2 separate regions of the Homo sapiens genome follow, and region 2 is linked to region 1. Evidence: promoter capture Hi-C in 16 types of primary human blood cells and fetal thymus (Javierre and others, 2016). All regions are on one chromosome and are shown on one strand. The core of a region is centred on a gene start or on the middle of the fragment in contact, and the rest is flanking DNA. Distances in the headings are between cores, read along the strand shown. Region 1 holds the start of SRL (sarcalumenin). Region 2 holds the start of NLRC3 (NLR family CARD domain containing 3).

Region 1 (2,951 bases), core at 205-2,704:
CCAGCCCCTCGGAGGTTGAGGTGAGAGGGTGGCTTGAGCCCAGGAGTTCAAGGCTGCAGTGAGCTATGATCGTGTCACTACTCCAGCCAGGGTGACAGAGACCCTGTCTCTTAAAAAAGATTAAAAAAAAAAAAAAAGTCAAGTGCCTACCAGATGCCTAATTCTTTTTTTTTTTTTTTTTTTTTTTGAGACAGAGTCTCGCTCTGTTGCCCAGGCTAGAGTCAGTGGTGCAATCTTGGCTCATGGCAACCTTCGCCTCCTGGGATCAAGTGATTCTCCTGCCTCAGCCTCCTGAGGAGCTGGGATTATAGGCACCCGCCACCACACCCAGTAATTTTTGTATTTTTAGTGGAGATGGGGTTTCACCATGTTGGCCAGGCTGGTCTCAATCTCCTGACCTCAGGTGATCCACCCGCCTCGGCCTCCCAAAGTGCTGGGATTACAGGTGTGAGCCACTGTGCCTGGCCCTGATTTAGTTCCTTTCCTCCAAGGCTGGCTTCTACCTCTTCCCCACACAGTGACACTGTACCCCGACCAGACAAGCAAGTGTCTGCTTTCCCTTGGCTTCTTACAACTGGCTCTCTGGGCCATCTACAAAAAATTTTAAAAAATTAGTACAGCATGGTGGCACTACTGTCCTAGCTACTTGGGAGGCTGAGTTGGGAGGATTGATTGAGCCTGGGAGGTCGAGTGCAGTGAGTGATGATTGTGCCACTGCAGTCCAGCCTGGGTGACAGAGCGAGATCCTCTATCAAAAACAAATAAACAAAAAAGCACTTTGCAGAGGTGACTGAATGTTCTGGAACCCCTGGGCCATTGGAAATGGATATCTGTTGCTCCATCCTCCAGTTTACACCGTAGCCTCAGCTTGTGTCTCAGTGTGCCCCTCTCCCTCTGGTCTGTGCTCTCTCTCTTCCAGAGGCTGGGAAGGTTGTTCCAGGGCTGCAGCCTTGGACCTCAGAGGTCACATGTTGCGGGTTTGCCGTAGCTGACCACTCTCTAGCATGTGGATCAGTGGCTGTTAAATAGGATTTCTTTTGCGTGGCCTTACAACTTCCTCCTTCCAGTGCAGGCGTGTCAAGGTCCTTAACCTGCCGAGACTTCAGGTCAAGTTATTGCAAGTTCTGGGAAGACTCAGCTTCCCAGCTCCACCGCCTGAGCCCAAGGGATGCTCCATTTTATGCCTGTCACCCACGCCCTGTGACCCATGTCATGTGATCCCAGGGCTGCAGGGGTTCGGGGGAAGAGAATCCAGCCACGGCCCTGCCTTCTGGGGCCTGGCAGCTGGGACAGCAGTGGCGCAGCCTGAGCCTCTGCACAGCCTTCTGGGGTCCGGGCTTCTTCCCCATCACACCCTCCTAGTTGCCCTGGTGACTGTGTGACCCCTCTCCCCCCTCCACCGCCTGCTGCCACGGCCGGCCGTATAAATAGAGGCGAGGAGCAGCTGGGCTCTCTTGGCAGTCACCATGAGGGCGCTGGTCCTGCTCGGCTGCCTCCTGGCCTCGCTCCTGTTCTCAGGACAAGCAGGTAGGGCCCCTCCCAGCATGACCCAGCCCAGACTGGTCCCCCACGCTTCCTCCAAGGTTTTCTGTCTACCATGGGTTGGGTAGGGGGTCGGGGCTGATGGCAAACCCTGGCTCTTGGCTGGTGTCTTCTTACCCTTCTCTTTTCCCCGGGCCTGGGGCCTCAGAGAAAGAGCTGGGTGCTGGAGAATAGCAGCACAGTTGCGGGGCCCTCAGGAAGGCCAGAGGAAGTGGGAACGGCAAACAGAGCTGAGCTGTGAGCCAGGGTCAGAGAGGAGTCTGGCCAGTAGATGTGGGAAAGAGGGCCCTCAAAGTCGAGACGGGGGAGCCTCTGAGACGGACAAAATAGCACAGTCTGGGAGCTGGAGGTCGTTGAGGTGACCCTCCCACCTGGTGGGATATAAGGCGGAGGCCCCACTCGGGTAAGAGAACTGGGTTTGCGTGGACAGAAGGGGATACAGTGGGCAAAGGTGGGGACCGTTTTGGGAGCAGTGAGATAGAATTGGAATTGGTTTGGGATAAGATCGGAAATAGAGTTGGCGGTTGGGCTGGAAACAGCATTGGATGCAATTCAGAAGAGGAACGGGGCCCGTTCTGGAGTAGAGCCTCTGCTCGGGGTGGGGGCTTCCATCAGAAAAGGGGCTTGGCTCTGTGTGCTGAGGCTTCCCTTTGACATCTCAGCACTTTGGGTAGCAGAGGTGGTGGCTTGGGTTGCAGCATGGGGGTTATCTATAGGCTATGGAGGAGATGCCAGATTGTTTTGCCACCTCTCTTGTTCCTAAGGTTCCTGAGGCCAGGTTCCCCGAGGGAATGCTTTTAGGGAGGTGCTCCGGGGATCCCCCTAGGATCCGGACTGCCCACCGAGTCTTTTCATGACTCGGCAGTCTTCCCCCAAGCTGGGCTCTGAGCCTAGGTCCGTACCTGGGACTGGAGAGGCCCAGAGTCCAGCCTCTCAGGTCTTTGAGGTTGAATAGGGGGTTGCAGGGGCACAGTCCCTGCAGGGAGAGCAGGCAGTGGGTGGGAACAAAAGCTATTTCTCGGGGACTCAAGATGTAAGGTGGGGGGCTCCAGCCACTGCATGTGCTGCTGGGCCCTGCCCTTGTCTGTCCTTGAGTTAATTTGGGCTCTGCAGGGCTGCAGCGGCTTGAGTGCTGAGTATTCCAGGCGGCTGTCAGGCGGCTAAGTATGGAAACAGCCGCGTAATTGGATCCGGAGCCCCAAGCCGCTGCCACCCTCTCCCTTCGTGGCCGCTCCTGTGCTGCCCCCCAGCCCCAGCTGCTGGGCTGCTACACACTGGGCCCCAGGAATTTTTGGCCTTTTAGGGACATCCTTTATCTTTCCTCCCACCGAGGGAACTGGTCATCTGGAATGTTCTGCAGGCCTCGCTGGGGGCTCTTGTCGTGGGGAAAGGACGCAGGCAGGTGCTTG
Region 2 (2,951 bases), core at 164-2,663, 660 kb after region 1:
TGCAGGAGCACTTCTGGTCTGCTGCCTCAGTTCCCTCCCCCCCATCACCCACACAGGCTCTGGGGAACCAGCTAACCCTCCTACCTCCCCTGAGCCACAAGCTGCTCTATGAGTCCAGACCCACTACTCTCCTGCTCTACAACCATTGCTGGCTCCCACTTGCTTGCTGAGGAAAATTCAGACCCCAGGACCCCTGTCCCTTGGCTCCCACCTTGTCACCTCCTTCCCTCAGTGGCCCCATGTTGCTTGCTCCCTGTCCCCAGCGGATGTCCCATACTTTATTGTAATTTTTCTCATGTGGCTTGCTCTGGGCCATGTCCTTCCCCCTCACGCCCTTCCCTGTCAGGGCAGGCCACCCACTGAGGTCCACTTCCAGGGGCCGAGTGCGATCTCCTGCCGCGGACGGCAACATTCTGCTGTTTCCTCTTAGGGTACAGGTGACCTGCCTCTGGGGAGCCCTTTGCTCACAGGAAGATGTTATGGGGCACAGCTGAGTCAGAGGTGCCTACTGGGTGACAGAGAGAAAAGAAAGCAAGAGGTGTTAAAAGAGGGAGCACAGTGGCTCACACCTGTTATCTCCGTGTTTTGGGAGGCCAAGGCAGGAGGATCACTTGAGCCCCAGGAGGTAGAGGCTACAGTGAGCCGAGATCACACCACTGCACTCCAGTCTGGGTGACAGAGCAAGATCCTGTCTCAAAAAATAAATAGGCTGGGCGCAGTGGCTCACGCCTGTAATCCCACCCCTTTGGGAAGCCAAGGTGGGTGGATCACCTGAGGTCAGGCGTTCAAGACCAGCCTGGCCAACATGGCAAAGCCCCTCCTCTGCTAAAAATACAAAAATTAGCGGGGCATGGTGGCGCATGCCCGTAATCCCAGCTACTCAGGAGGCTGAGGCAGGAGAATCTCTTGAACCTGGGAGGGGGAGGTTGCAGTGAGCCGAGATCGTGCCATTGCACTCCAGCCTGGGCAACAGAGCGAGACTCTGTCTCAAATAAATAAATTAAATAAATAAATAAGGAGAGCCACAGGGGTGGCCTGGAGGTGGCAGGGCACAGTCCAGTCCTGCTGGGGTCACCCTCTAGTTGCGTGACCTCAGGCTGCTCACTTGATTTCCTGACCACCCGCCTGAAAACAAGCATTTGTTGATGGCGGGGCAGCTTCCTTTGTGGCGGGATGGAGGTGATGTGTCAACAGCCTTGGCACCAGCCACTTTATCCTGAGCATGCCACCTGCAGGGACACTTAATCCCAGAGTCAAGACCCCCAGCATCGCCCCCGCACTTAACTTGCACGGGGGCGGTGACCAAGCCAGGGTGCCCCGGCTCCTCGATGTGTCTGCGAGGCTGTTGGCTGTTGAAATCAGACAGGAAGGAAGAATGAGGTGGAGCCCAGCACAGGAAGAGGTGAGGACCCGGAGCCACAGGGACAGCCGGTGGGCTCGGTGGGGCTGCAGAAGGTCGGGGCTGCACTGCTCTCGGCCCCCACACGGTTGGTTGGTTGGCGTGGTAAGTGCCCTGATCCCTGGTCCTGAGAACTCAGGCTGGCACAGGGATTCCCAGGGCATCTACCACCACGCAGCTGGAGCAGGGCTGAGCCCAGGAGCATGGAGATGGACGCCCCCAGGCCCCCCAGTCTTGCTGTCCCTGGAGCAGCATCGAGGCCCGGGAGGTAAGTTGGGTCCAGGTGACCTCAGTGCAGGGCAGGGGAGGGAGAAGGGATGCTGGCAGGAAGGACAGTGGCCTTAAGGCCTGAGCTACTCTGGGGAGGGGGACTGGGGAGACTCCACGAGACTCCAAGAAGCTGTCTCCTGGGGCAGGACTGGCTCATGCTGTAGAAAAAAGAGATGTGGCCAGGCACGGTGGCTCACGCCTGTAATCCCAACACTTTGGGAGGCCAAGGTGGGCGGATCACTTGAGGTCAGGACTTTGAGACTAGCCTGGCCAACATGGTGAAACCCCATCTCTACTAAAAATAAAAAATAAATTAGCCAGGCATGTTGGCAGACGCCTGTAATCCCACCCAGCTAGTCGGGAGGCTGAGGCAGGAGAACCGCTTGAACCCGGGAGGCGTAGGTTGCAGTGAGCCGAGATCGAGCCACTGCACTCAATCCTGGGTGACAAAGCGAGACTGTCTCCAAAACAAAACAAAACAAAACAAAAAAGAAAAGAAAAAACAGGTAACTAAGAATGGCCCAGGACAGGTCCCAGGGACAAAACCCAGCTCCCCCAGGTACCAGTGATGGCCCAGGAGAAGCAGGAAGCATCTTGAAGGTGCTGCGGGCAGGCAGTGGTGATGCTGAGCCACGGCCTGGGGAATCGGCAGACCTGGGCACCCTTCCTGGCACTGGGACCCCCCATGGGAGGCTACTTCTCTGGGCCTCAGCACCCCACCTGTAGATGGAGGTGACAGCACAGGAGGGGCGAGGTCATGAGGGGCAGGGAGGGTGCAGGCGCCGCCCCCAGGCGAGTGGGCAGCCCCAGGGCCTCTCCTGCCCACAGCCTTGGGTGAGACAAGGGTCGAGAGAGACGGCAACCGCAGAGGCCTTCTCGGAAGAAGTGCCACTGCCCTGGGCCAGCCTGGGTGTTGGCTGCAGGGTCTTCCCCTATGGCCAGGCTCCAGAGGCCCTGGTGTTTTTCTGGACCCCTCCCTGGAGGTGACCCTGAGCCTGGGGCTCACTGTTGGCCATCACAGGCTGCAGGCTGCACCCCTCTTCTTCTGTCCCAGGGTGCTGGGCTCCCCAGGGCTGGGCCTCTCCACCCCTTGGACTCCAGGGGTCCATGCAGTGAGCAGGGTAGGGCCCTGAGGTGCAGGTGCCACTTCCTTCTTCCTTCGGGAAGGCTTTTGAGCTCAAGTGATGATGCTGGGGCCACCTCGAGAGAACCGAGTCCTGAATTCCAAGGCCCTGGGAGGGGGCAGGGGCAGGATGTGGGAAGAGAGGAGCATCCAAGCAGC

Evidence for each region. The method cuts DNA at HindIII sites, captures the fragments that hold promoters and counts their contacts. A CHiCAGO score of 5 or more calls a contact.
Region 2: a contact is called between the fragment with the promoter of NLRC3 here and the fragment with the promoter of SRL in region 1, in 1 of 17 cell types (naive CD8 T cells). The highest score is 5.7, in naive CD8 T cells.

Annotation. Positions count from the first base shown.
Region 1 is chr16:4,240,583-4,243,533 of GRCh38, reverse strand. It overlaps SRL (sarcalumenin), which reads left to right and starts at 1,454. Exons shown (of 6, transcript NM_001098814.2): 1 at 1,454-1,527. The coding sequence starts at 1,467. The HindIII fragment of the contact is 10,843 bases long and covers 1-2,951 here.
Region 2 is chr16:3,575,865-3,578,815 of GRCh38, reverse strand. NLRC3 (NLR family CARD domain containing 3) reads left to right here and starts at 1,413. Exons shown (of 20, transcript NM_178844.4): 1 at 1,413-1,667. LOC105371060 (a long non-coding RNA gene) reads right to left here and starts at 1,313. Exons shown (of 2, transcript XR_001752061.3): 1 at 1-1,313. RefSeq lists enhancers at 70-249, 280-329. The HindIII fragment of the contact is 15,514 bases long and covers 1-2,951 here.